Linked DNA regions of Homo sapiens: region 1 is linked to region 2. The links are contacts of gene promoters, found by promoter capture Hi-C in blood cells and fetal thymus (Javierre and others, 2016). All regions are on one chromosome and are shown on one strand. Each heading gives the region's core, a stretch centred on a gene start or on the middle of the fragment in contact. The rest is flanking DNA. Distances are from core to core; before and after follow the strand shown.

Region 1 (6,881 bases), core at 2,736-5,235, 200 kb before region 2:
GAGGCCTAGGCGGGCAGATCATCTGAGGTCAGGAGTTCGAGACCAGCCTGCCTAACATGGTGAGACCCCTCTCTACTAAAAAAAAAAAAAAAATACAAACATTAGCCAGGCGTGGTGGTGCGCGCCTGTAATCCCAGCTACTCATGAGGCTGAGGCATTGCTTGAACTCGGGAGGCAGAGGTTGGAGTGAGCTGAGATCACGCCACTGCACTCCAGCCTGGGCAATAAGAATGAAACTCCATCTAAAAAACAAAACAAAACAAAAAAACAACAAAAAACACCCCTTTTTAATATATTCTAACCATTGTCTTAAAGGATTTGAGTTTCTAAATAGAATATAAAGGAACAATTAAGGGCAAAATGTTCATAGGTGGTAATGTTAGTACCACCTATGAAAATAAAGCATAAAGTCCAAGCAAATTTCATCCTTCACTCAATTTATAATTTCATGGCATTCCCAGAAAACTTAGTGCTTATTGAAACTGTTGAAAAGTACTTCATGATGGTATCTTTTTTATTTTTATTTTGAGACAACATCTTGTTCTGTTGCCCAGGCTTGAGTGCCCAGGCAGTGGTATGATCTTGGCTCACTGCAACCTCTGCCTCCTGGATTCAAACAATCCTTCCACCTTAGCCTCCCAAGTAGCTGGGACTGCAGGCACATGCCACCACACCTAGCAAATTTTCATATTTTTAGTAGAAATGGGGTTTCAACATGTGGCCAGGCTGGTCTCGAACTCCTGGACTCAAGTGATCCACCGACCTTGGCCTCCCAAAGTGCTGGGATTACATGTGTGAGCCACTGCGCCCAGCCGATGATATCTGAAACAGATATCAACCTAAACCTGATGATGTCAACCTAAACACAGTTAGGTTCTATGTTCATCATTATACAAAGGTGTTTTTCTTTCTTACGTTTTTAACCAGCATCAAAGTCCTGTGGATGCATACTTCATGACATTCAGCATCTCTGGCCTCAGGCCATTTAGTGCCTATGGTACCCCTTTCCTGAAACCATCGAGATAAACTAAAAATGCTCCACAAGTTCCCACTTGCTCCTTAGGGAACAGTTTCAGATCTGCTGAGGACGACAGACCCAGAGGATTTCTGAGGCCATTAAGCATTAATGCTAGAAGTACTCACTGAAGTACCTAAGGGAACCGCTTGTCAGGGTTTGACTTAACTCATCAATATCACACAACATTGAATACTAGTAAAACTAAAGCACTGTAACTAAATTCATTTATCAACTTTACATTTTAATCAAAGAAGTCCCCAACTTGAAATATTTTCAAACTCTGACTATATCAAGAAAACAGTGTCATCATATAGCAAGTATTTTTTGTTTGTTTTTTTTTTTTTTGAGATGGAGTTTCACTCTTGTTGCCCAGGCTGGAGTCCAATGGCACAATCTTGGCTCACTGCAACCTCTGCCTCCTGGGTTCAAGCAATTCTCTTGCCTCAGCCTCCCTAGTAGCTGGGATTACAGGCATGCGCCACCACTCCCGAGTAATTTTGTATTTTTAGTAGCGATGGGGTTTCACCACGTTGGTCAGGCTGGTCTTGAACTCCTGACCTCAGGTGATCTGCCTGCCTCGGCCTCCCAAAGTGCTAGGATTACAGGCATGAGCCACCGTGCCCAGCCTATAGCAAGCCTCTTCTAAACATAATAACATCTAAGAAAGAGCCCTAAATAGCAGCACTTAGTCCTAAAAGCCCCTAAGCTCTGGGGGCCTTTCTGAGTTTGGGAAAGTTACTATAAAAGAAAAATCTGAGGAACAATACAATTTTAAAGAGTTTATTTGAGTAAGAAGCAATTCATGAATTGGGGAACACCAGACGAAAAAAGTTTTAGTGTCCCAATGACAAAAAGTCAGAGACAAGTATTTACTGGGAAACGTAGAAGCAAAATAAAGAAATTATTTGATTGATTTGAAATTACAGAATTGCCTTTTTTTAGGTACCTTGTTGGAAAGCCCCTAGTCACTTAGTCATATGTTAGTTGGCAGCTTACGACTGGCGGGGGTTAAGTTTTACTTCTAACATAAACATTTATCAAAATGACTCTACTTGTTCTGCTTATGTCTGCAATTTAAGCAAGGCTGAGGTAACATATAAGGCCTAACTGGTTTTGTGCGCTCAGAGATTTCACAGGCCTGGTCTTCATTTTAACTTCCTTTAACAATACTCATTCCAAAACCCACTCAGACCCAAACCTGCCTAAGGTAGGGAAGCAGAAGGAAGCACGTTACAAATTCCATGGCAATACGGTGAGAAGATTTCAGCAGCCCAGGGACACAAAAAGAGAGTAACAACCTTGGCAGAGGCCACGATGCTGGAGTGAGAGGGCCCTGATGGCAGAGCTGGAACCCCACAAGTAATTTAATGGGGAAGTGTTGTTCATACCCAAGTGTTCTTAAATTAAATGTGGTCTGCTTAGATACTCCAACTTATTACTTCATAACTGAATGAAAGCCCCATCCCCCTCCTGAAACTCTCTCTCCTCCATGCAAGGGACCACTATGAACACAATGGTTCTAGTCCAAGCGAGAAACCTGAGAGTCATCTTCAACAACTTAATCATCCTCACACACCTCCCAATGTCCAGCTGCAAAGTCCTTTCTTCTCTGCCTCTTAACTGTTTCTGAATCGATTTACTACTTTATATCTGTACAGGCTGCATCTACTTCTGGCACCATCACCTCCTATGTGGATTAATGCAACAGCCTTGTAACTGGCCTCTGAACATCCCTCTTTCCTAATCACTGTTCCCAAACCACCTCTTCTCTGAGCTACCGTAACACTGCCTTCTGGGTGGTCATGTCATCCACATGGGTACCCATGTCGTCCACTCTCTGTTTCAGGTAACAGATCTAGTTGTCCTGACCACCTAACAGTCACCTACCTTGATTGACTAGGCATGGTGCTTCTTCCTATCCTCTGGCCACAATGACTGGTCCTGGTCCATTTGGACTATGGACTTGAACTAAGTTAATCAGATACTATTTCTCAAAGACTAGAAATCTGAGTAGAGACTAACACCCTGCAGTTAGAGGAAGTCAACTCAGAGCACTGCTCTATAGAGACATCCCACAAGTTCTGCAGAGACACCGGGAAAGCCCTAGTTGTTTGCCCTTCTCAGAGACCTGTAAGTTCAGCCCATTCTTCAATTCTGGGAGCAACCCCAGTATTTTTCCAGTAAATTTCTTTGAAGCTTCTGTTTGCCTGAGTCTATTCCTGTTGTTGATAATCAAGGAAACTACAGTGCCAGTAAAAACGGACCTGGCTGTCCTTGCTCCCACCCGGCATCCCCCAGCTCCAGCCCTCACTGCACAGGCTGCAGCCCTGCGGATCTGCCTGTCACATCTCAACAGCCCTCCTGGCCTGGTGCCTCTTGCCTTCCTCCCTAAACTCTTCTTGGGATGATTCCCATTCACACTCGGACTCAGTCAAGAGGTCGCTTCCTCTGGGAAGTTCTCCGGAAGGCCCTCTTGCTCCACAGGAATTTGCCTGTGTCCTTTAGTCTGACCTCAAGTTACAAGTGATGATTCCTGTTCACAGCTGTGCCCCATGCCAGTCATGCCTGGCAGAGGGCAGGCTCGCTGTGAATACTGTCAAACAAATGAGCAAATGAGGAAATCAGAAACACTTCAAATGAGTATTCAGGGAAGTGTAACACAAGTTTAAAAATAAATGTATTTCTCTGGAATCAAGAGACTCTAGGCATCCAATATTAAATTCATTGTATTTTAATATTAATTCATAGTCCAAATCATTTGACCATGCTTTTGCTTTGTGAAAATTCCTAAGTTGTGCACTTAAGATTTTTGCACTCTTGTGTATTACATATTAATAAAATTTTTAAAAACACATTTAACATCACTGAAAACCATAGATACAGACTAGTAATAAGTTCATATGCTTGGAAACATTATATAGTGGTAGAAGGTACACTGAGTACAAGTAAAATTATAGTCTTAATCATGCCACTTACTATAAGAGCTGTGACATCTTGGTTCGATAAAAATTCTTTATATTCAGCTTTAATATCCATAAAATAACATAATTACCATTTTGTCCAAATCTCAGGGCTACAGAATAGATTTTTTAAAATTATAAAGGTGAAAATTCAAATATAAGTTGTTTTTGTTACAAAATTTGGAATCATCTCAAAATGAATGTTAGTTAAACCAGTCAAAAAAAATTGGACTTTGGAAAACACAACACTTTGGCATGAAACTGCCTACAAAATCCCATGAATGCATACCAAAAAGTGATATAGGATAATGAATCCAGGATGCTAACCTGAAATTTAAGACTAAATTTATTCTTGAGGAACAAAAAAATGATATCCCTACATCATCATTTTTCTTTGTAAACTAGATTTAAAAATTATTTACATTTCATGACCAGGAGCAATGGCTCACGCCTGTAATCCCAGCACTTTGGGAGGCTGAGGCAGACAGATCACGAGGTCAGGAGATTGAGACCATCCTGGCTAACACAGTGAAACCCCATCTCTACTAAAAATACAAAAAAATTAGCCAGGCGTGGTGGTGGGCACCTGTAGTCCCAGCTACTTGGGAGGCTGAGGCAGGAGAATGGCGTGAACCTGGGAGGTGGAGCTTGCAGTGAGCTGAGATCGTGCCACTGCATTCTAGCCTGGGCCACAGTGAGAGACTCCGTCTCCAAAAAAAAAAAAAAAAAAAAAAATTATTTACATTCCATGAACTAAGACAAACATTTCTTAAGCTTATGATAACGGAAATGCTTTTAAGAGTTCAGCTAAGGCATTAACCTTCTGGCTGCAGTAATCTCAGAGAAGGGGGTGGAGGAAAGTGCAGATATTCCTTATTTCATATGGTGGAGATATTATAACATTTAAAACTACTTCAAAATAAGTGCTTGCATTTAAAGAGAGTATAACAAAATATGAAAGGATGTAGAGATTAAAAATATATGAAACACATCTTTACATATACACATGCTAATAAGCTCTTAAAAATAATTGAATGATAAAATGAACCATAATTAGAAATGGTGACTAACAGGCAATTTTATTGTATACCTCTCTATAGTATCAAAACATACAGGCTGGGCGCGGTGGCTCATGCCTGTAATCCCAGCACTTTGGGAGGCCAAGGCGGGTGGATCACGAGGTCAGGAGTTCGAGACCAGCCTGGCCAAGATGGTGAAACCCCATCTCTACTAAAAAATACAAAAATTAGCCAGGCGCAGTGGCGGACATCTATAATCCCAGCTACTCGGGAGGCTGAGGCAGGAGAATCACTTGAACCTGGGAGGTGAAGGTTGCAGTGAGCCGAGACTGTGCCACTGCACTCTAGATCGGGCGACAGAACAAGACAAGACTCCGTCTCAAAAAACAAAACAAAACAAAACAAAACATACAATCTCAGAATAGCATTTAACAGTCACACGGTAAGAGGAGAGAACAGATGGGCAAGACTTTATTTCTCAGAAAAAATAGATTTTCATTTTTTAACTGCTGAGCCAAAATACTTTATTAAGTTCCCAGAAATGCTAAACAGCTTTGTAAGAACATCTGAAGCACCTTTTTTCTCTCTCTCTTAAAAAATAAAGTACTACAATATAGATTCATGTTTGTTAAGAATGTAAAATACATTTTAAGAATGTAAAAACATTTAGTTATTGTAAAAATTAACTTTTGAGCAAATGCAAGTGTTAACCTACCCTTACCCACTCTGTACCATTAAAATAGGGGTAAGTAGAAAACAAATACATACACATTGAAAACTTCCATTTTCATTTCAGTGAATATTTACCCAATGACTACCATATCACTAACTGCTATAGGTACGGGGCACATAAGGATAACTAAGGCAGAGCCCGGAGTAACTTCCTAGACTGCGATGTACACACAAAACATATTGCAATATTCTGTCGTGACACAGCAGAGGCAGCATCTGCAAAGCGCTGCGAAATGCAGCAGCAGCAAGAAAGGCCTAGGCCTTACCGGGTTCATCACGGAAGTGAGTCTGTATTAGCTGTGGTTCACGAAGTGGGAGAGGGAAAGGGAATTCTCAGGGAGTAACTTGAAAGAGCACTGACTTAACAGTGTGTCAGGCACTGTGCTAGCTTCTCAGGCAACAGCAATAAGACTCAGTTAACTAGTTTCAAATGAGCTTATAGTTCAAGGGAGACACAAGAAAAGGTCAATCATAAAACATGTTGAGTGCACTCACAGTTCTGAGAGATCGTACTGTTTTCTGGAAGTTTAAAACCCATTTTCAAGGAATTTGGACATACTAGTGAAAATCAAACAATGGTATAAGGAAATGTGAAGCTGTGGCAGCCATGAGCATCCCTGTTTGGGATGGCCAGAAACTCCTGTTGGCACGTTCCCTCCTACCTCAGGGAGTTCTCCCTGTCCTTGAATCCTGATTGCTCTGTACCTCTTTTTAGGATATTTACCAAATGTTGCCATGTATCAAGATAAATCTGAGACTTATTTACTCTTCCCTACTAGATTATAACCTCTGAGACTGGGAACTTTGTCCCTTAGCTTCTTAGCCACTGTAATGTGAGGCATAAGGCTCACTCTAAAGGGCACTTTAACTTGTGGCCAGGCACGGTGGCTCACACCTGTAATCCCAGCAGTCTGGGAGGCCAAGGCAGGCAGATCATGAGGTCAGGAGTTTGAGACCAGCCTGGCCAATATGGTGAAACTCTGTCTCTACTAAAAATACAAAAATTAGCCAGGTGTGGTGGCACGTGCTTGTAATCCCAGCTACTCGGGAGGCTGAGGCAGAAGAATCGCTTGAACCCGGGAGGCAGAGGTCGCAGTGAGCCAAGATCATGCCACTGCACTCCAGCCTGGGTGAGAGGGCGAGACTCCATCT
Region 2 (6,075 bases), core at 3,378-5,877:
ATATATATATATATTTAACAAGTGAAGTGTTTTAAGAGGAAATGGAAGACTAAGGTTGTTTTAAGGAGTACAACTCTGAATTCCTTTTGCTTTTTTACCTTACAGTTTTTCTCTAGCAAGGATGGTGGCAGCAAGTGAAAGGGAAGATGTGTTTTCAGGATCCGTGGTGAGGGCATTGCATGAGCTTGTTCCAAACCTGCAAAACTGGTTTTCGATCAATTTCTACGATTTTTTTTTTATCTATTTGCTTCCAAGTCTTGCTGCTTCCATTATTACTACTACAATTCAAAGCATCTATAAGAACATTGTAACTGTAGATCTGGTGTGAGAGAATACGTCTAGCCTATGAATAGATGTTTTGACTAGAACAATTCCTAACCATAACAGTCATCCAAATAAATAAGAACCTAAAAAATTCAAACCCTTTCACCAGGATTATCTTACTTGAGCTTATTCTTTTGAAGTAAAATTAATTTCTAACTAGAGAAACAAAATTTAACTCACTTTTGTACAAACAGTAATTCCATTAGAAAATGTCTGGAGTATAACAATGGCCAGACACAGTTAAAAAAAGACAAAACCATGAAACTTACCAATAATTGTTTGAAAGCCTATAATTTCGAAAGGTGCAAAGACAGTAAAAATCCTAAGTGCATTTTAGGACTGTAGTGAAGTGTGGCTATTTATACTCACCAGATCCTAAGGATGGGATTTTCATTTCGAGGAAAGGAAATCGTTGATGAGTCGGTGCCCGTTTACTTTTCTCCACATCACCTTCATTTTGTATTAATTCCACTATCTCCTGAGTCCATGTTGTTCCTTACGTGCACGTAAAATGAAGATGAATAGACATCTAGTATAGTACATTCCTTAAAATATGATCAAATACTTGTTAGAACATCTATGTCTTTTGTTTTGTTTTGTTTTGTTTTGTTTTTTGAGACAGGGTCTTGCTCTGTATCAAGGCTGGAGTTCAATGGTGCAATCTTGGCTCACTGCCTCCTGGGTTCAAGCGATCCTCTCGCCTCAGCCTCCTGAGTAGCAGGGGTTACATGCATACACAATCACCCCTGGCTAATTTTTATACTTTTTGTAGAGACGGCATTTTACCATGTTGCCCAGGCTGATCTGGAACTCCTGAGCTCAAGTGATCTGCTTGCAAGTGATCTGCTCGCCTCGGCCTCCTAAAATGCTGGGATTATAGGTGTGAGCCACCATGCCTGGACCATCTATGTGAATTTAAAAGCTAGGTTTTAAATGGGATTCAGAAGATAGCATTCCTTATTTATATCTTATTATCATAATATGATTTTAAAAAAATACTCCAATTTTGAATGGACATTAGACTGATAAATATACATTTATTTTTTTCTGTCACAACTATTAATTTGGATTGTTATTATTGTTCTATTTATTTAGCTGTATTGTCCTTAGAAAGGACATTCTCCCCAAATTGTGATCTGCTATAGAGAAATGACTACATGATTTTCAAACTCTCTTTTTCCCAGTTGCATAGCGTAGGAGACACTTAGTATTTGTTGGCTGAATGAGTGAACCATTAGGGCTTGAACTTGATATTGACCATTAGCACTTAGTATTCAATTTTTCGCCTTTCTCTGTTTCCCCCATATCTCATGGGCTGAAAGGCTGTAAAAGGCCTTCCCTAAACTCCTTTGCCACTAAGATTCTGAAGGCTATTTAGATCCCTCCAGTGAGATGCATTAGCCTGAGTTTTGGAAGGCAGTGGGGAGATAGAAGTCATCCTTCCTGAGGTGGTGGCTGCTGATAGTAGCCCCAGCAGATAGAAATTTTGCAGAGACCATTCCACGTTCCATGGCCCAGTGCCCTAGACCCAACCACTGCCACTGTGGCCATAGGTAGAATGGTATCCCCCAGCTTCAGTCTGTCTGTGTCTTGCACTGATCCTGACTGATACAGTGATATTGTGCTATCAACATAATCTTCACCCTTTGATGAAGATCTGTTGCACCAGATGTTCTGGCAAAATCCAGGTTAGGAGGATGTTGAGTTATTTTAGGATGGCTTTTTTTATTTTTTATTTTTCCAGAGACAGGGTCTTGCTCTGTTGCCCAGGCTGGAGTACAGTGGTGGGATCCTAGCTCAGTGCAGCCTCCAACTCCTGGGCTCAATGGTCCTCTTGCTTCAACCTCCCAAATAGCTAGGACTGTGAGTGCACACCACCATGCCTGGCTAATTTTTATTTTTTTTTTGTACATAGGAGTCTCCCTATGTTGCCCAGGCTGGTCTCAATCTTCTAGCCTCAAAAGATCCCCCTGTCTTGGCCTCCCAAAGTGATGGGATTACAGGTGTGAGCCACCATGCCTAGCCAGGATGGCTTTCTGAATCCTGATCTAGGTTGATCTTTCCTGTATTATCTGGCCGAAACTCTATAGATTCCTTTTCCCATATTCTCAATTTAGTGCTTTTAAAGGCCTAGAATAAGGGCATAGGTTAGAAAAAAATTAAATTACATTTTATATTTTATAGTAGTTGGTCTCCTGTATTTTCTGGCAGCAACTTTTATTACAGGACAAAGGGCCAAGATATCTTTAGCTATCCATGCAAAGAATAGTCCAGCCATTTGTACTAGTTTTATGGGAATTTATAGCCATAACACTGAATGTCTATAATGAATGAATTGAATGAATTTATAGACATGAGCCAACATGAGGGCAGATTCAAATGTTGCTAGAGGCTCCGGGGTGAGTGGAATGACTTCTCAATTTATTCTCTAGAGGCCAGTGATTCTATGATGTATTTTTTTCTTGTGTCATTCAGAGTATTATTCTTTTAAAAATTTAGGGTGAACTATTTTTGCCATCTATGCTTGTTTCTTCTTCCTTCTAATAAAATAGCCTTCATTAATGTATATGGTTTTAGTTATGATTAAATATTACTTTAGATGGCAAGTATTTAATTTTCTTAGTGTGCTTTTTGAATTGCTTAAACCTCATTAATGCCATGAAAAACCTAAATGAACCATATCTTTGTACTTGCGTTTGGCAGATAGAGAAAAGATTATTTATGTATTGAATTGATAATCAAGTGGAATTGTCAATGAAATTAAGATGATGAGATGTGATCCTCACCAGTGGCTACTTTTAGAAATTTACATTCAGAAAAATTTGATCCTGAATGGGCTCCTGATGAGTAAGATTGGGAAATCAGGACCAAAATGAAACAGATGGACAAAGAAGAGACCAAGGCCTCCATGTGCCTGCAGAATCTTCTGTCAGGATCTTGAGAGATAAGAACAAAAGAGGATTTTGAACAGTCTCAGAAAATACTGAGGTTTAGATTTTTTGATGTGTGTGTGTTTGTGTGTGTATAACAAGAGTTTTTGACAGCTTGATTTTGCAAAGAGCAAATGTATATACAATTTGTGTGTGGACCCAGTAATGTATTTCTAGTAGATATGTAGATATGCAAAAATATTTATAGAGAACTATTTCCACCTCATCATCACCCAATTTTTATGACGTGGTGGCTCGGCTTAAGCTAGTCCTACTTTTACAGACAACTTTGTTAAACTGATTGTTGAGATAAGGCAGTTGGTTCAAAACTTACCACAAAGGAAGGTGGAAATCAGAAGGATGGTTCTCAGACCCTGAGATGGGAGGGCTGCTGAGGTGATATCAGCATTGCAGAACCAAAGCTCCCCTATTTCTTTCCCAAATCAGACTCAGGATCACCTTTCTAGCTCACACACTCAAAGCAGCTTTTTACAAGATCTACAATAAGGGCCTAGATTGGGAATGAATAAATAAACAAGTCTACCCTTTTGCTCTTAACTGTTTTCACTCTCTCCTGGGAAAGTGAAAAAAAAAAAAAAAGGAAGTACATCATAGTATCATAGGAAGATTGAATTCTAAAAATTTGTATGTCATTTTAGTATGTTTCGGTATAGCTTCAGTTTCCACTAGTAACTTTCCTTAGCCATATCACTCTGTCCAGAGTTTTCCAGATCAACTTCTTTATTTCATGACTAATGCATACTTCCACTTACCTTCCTAACTCTCCTCTTCCCCTTCCCCTGCAAGCCCTTCCACCTACCTGCTTTAGGATAGGTAGAAATAAGCAGGTCATCAGGCTTGGCTTGGAAGTTCCAGATCTTATCCCAGATGTCACAGGTGTCTGTCGGTTGAAGAATTCCCTTCACGTAGTTGACACTTAAGCGCTTTGTTCCATCAAATGTAAAATCCTCCATGTCGTGTAAGGCCATTAGTGTAAGAAATCAGAGGGCTCTTCCAGACACAAAGTTATCTTCAGTCAGCATATGGCTGCGTTGTGGATAGAGGCAGCACTCTATCCACCACACTACCACACTATCCAGCCCTCTAGCACAGGCCTGTCTGGGCCAGCAAACAGGGAGAAAGTGAGTTGCAGGCCTCCCGACTCAGGTTCCAGGGAACTGGAACTCTTGTTTATGACTTTGTCCACTGGCAGTTTCCTGAGGAACTGCAGCCCCCTCCTCACCAGGCTGTGGCGTCACAGCAGAGGCGGCCACAAACCCTGCTGGCCAGCAAACAGGGAGAAAGTGAGCTGCAGGTCTCCCGACTCAGGTTCCAGGGAACTGGAGCTCTTGTTTATGAATTTGTCCACTGGCAGTTTCCTGAGGAACTGCAGCCCCCTCCTCACCAGGCTGTGACGTCACAGCAGAGGCGGTCACAAACCCTGCTGGCTGGGTCCCGTTCCAGCCCTTCCGTTCTCTGTGAGTTAACAGGACATAGTATCACATTGTTTATAGCTCTCATGTCTGTGTCCATTAAACCCTTCATAGATAATTTCAGTAATTATTCCTTCTGGGAATTTTAAACAATTAAAAAGTTGCAGGACTTGCCTGTGAAATTACAGATTCTACACAGAATGACTTCCCTGAGAGACTGCAGGGACTTTCCCGTGGGCTATTAACAGTGGGGGCCTGGATGGATCTGAATCTCCCAGTACAAACATCTGCCAGGGTCAGCTTTGTTATTTTTTAAGAGTAAAATAAATAATGCTAAACTGGAGAATTGTAGGGGTTTCATCACAGCTATGAAAACATGTATGCCTCATTTAAAGCAAAAGGGATGCAGAAAACTCCAGAGTTAACAGAAGACAGTGGCTGCCTTAGGAATCCATTCTGCCCCTGATAATCAGAAATTTCACAACTTGCTTCAGTCCCTGCCCCCGGCCTGGCCTGCACCCCAGGGCCATGCCACACTTGCTCCCCATGGCAGCACTCCTTCTGGAGATCTTGTCGGCTCTTGTGTGTCTGGCTGTCTGATTCTCTTTCTTCGTGTCCCAGCTTTGATGCCCCCTTTCTGGAGAAGCCTTCTTTGACTTTCTATGTCATCTCAAGTAGGTCCCTCCTATTTCCTTGCTCATGGCACTTTGTGTTCCTTTAGAGCAACCATTGACAGTTAGTTTTTGCGTGTTTACTTGTTGGCATTTTCTGTCTCCTTCACTACACTCTAAGGCACATGAAATGGGGCCTGTTGTTTTCTCACTGTTTGATAGCTGTATGCCTAGTGTCTGGCATTCTTCTATTTCTCGAAAGAATGAATGAGTAAAACTAAGCAAAAATTGAGGAAGCGAGTTCCTTGGGCCATCATTATGTGGGGACTAGGTGAGTATGGTGGCTGTGGCTTGACATCCTTCAGAGAGAAGTCAGGCTGCCTGTATTTGAACCCTGTGCCAAGTCCCAGTAGCTGTGGGCAATGGCAGGTTACAGAATCTTTCTCTGTTTCATATCACGCTTTTCCTCAGGTCTGAATTGGGGATCTTAACATTATCTACCTCATGGTTGTGGGGAGATAAAACAGCTTATTTAATGCTTGGCAACAGGGAAATGTTGAATAAATCATAGCTGTTAATAATAATGGGTGACTTTGTTCACCATTTCTCTGTGGCCCATGTTCTGGATGCAAACTCAGAAAAGATCAATTCTTTGGCTTTCCCTATTCCTCATCCCCTCCCTCCAGACCATGGTGAGGTGGATGGGCCCTTGAGACAGAGACTGCCAGGTGGAATGCCTGGGATGCATATGCATTTAAACAGACTTATAAAAATCAC

Evidence for each region. The method cuts DNA at HindIII sites, captures the fragments that hold promoters and counts their contacts. A CHiCAGO score of 5 or more calls a contact.
Region 1: a fragment that was not itself captured here is called in contact with the fragment with the promoter of SULT1C4 in region 2 in 1 of 17 cell types (erythroblasts); the score reaches 5.9 in erythroblasts.

What each region holds. Positions count from the first base shown.
Region 1 is chr2:108,576,420-108,583,300 of GRCh38, reverse strand. The region is part of intron 1 of LIMS1 (LIM zinc finger domain containing 1); the gene reads right to left. Among named protein-coding and RNA genes, the nearest start is that of LIMS1, 45 kb to the right of the region's middle. The HindIII fragment of the contact is 1,538 bases long and covers 3,217-4,754 here.
Region 2 is chr2:108,376,506-108,382,580 of GRCh38, reverse strand. SULT1C4 (sulfotransferase family 1C member 4) reads right to left here and starts at 4,627. Exons shown (of 7, transcript NM_006588.4): 1 at 4,075-4,627; 2 at 694-819; 3 at 99-196. The coding sequence starts at 4,243. The HindIII fragment of the contact is 14,120 bases long and covers 1-6,075 here.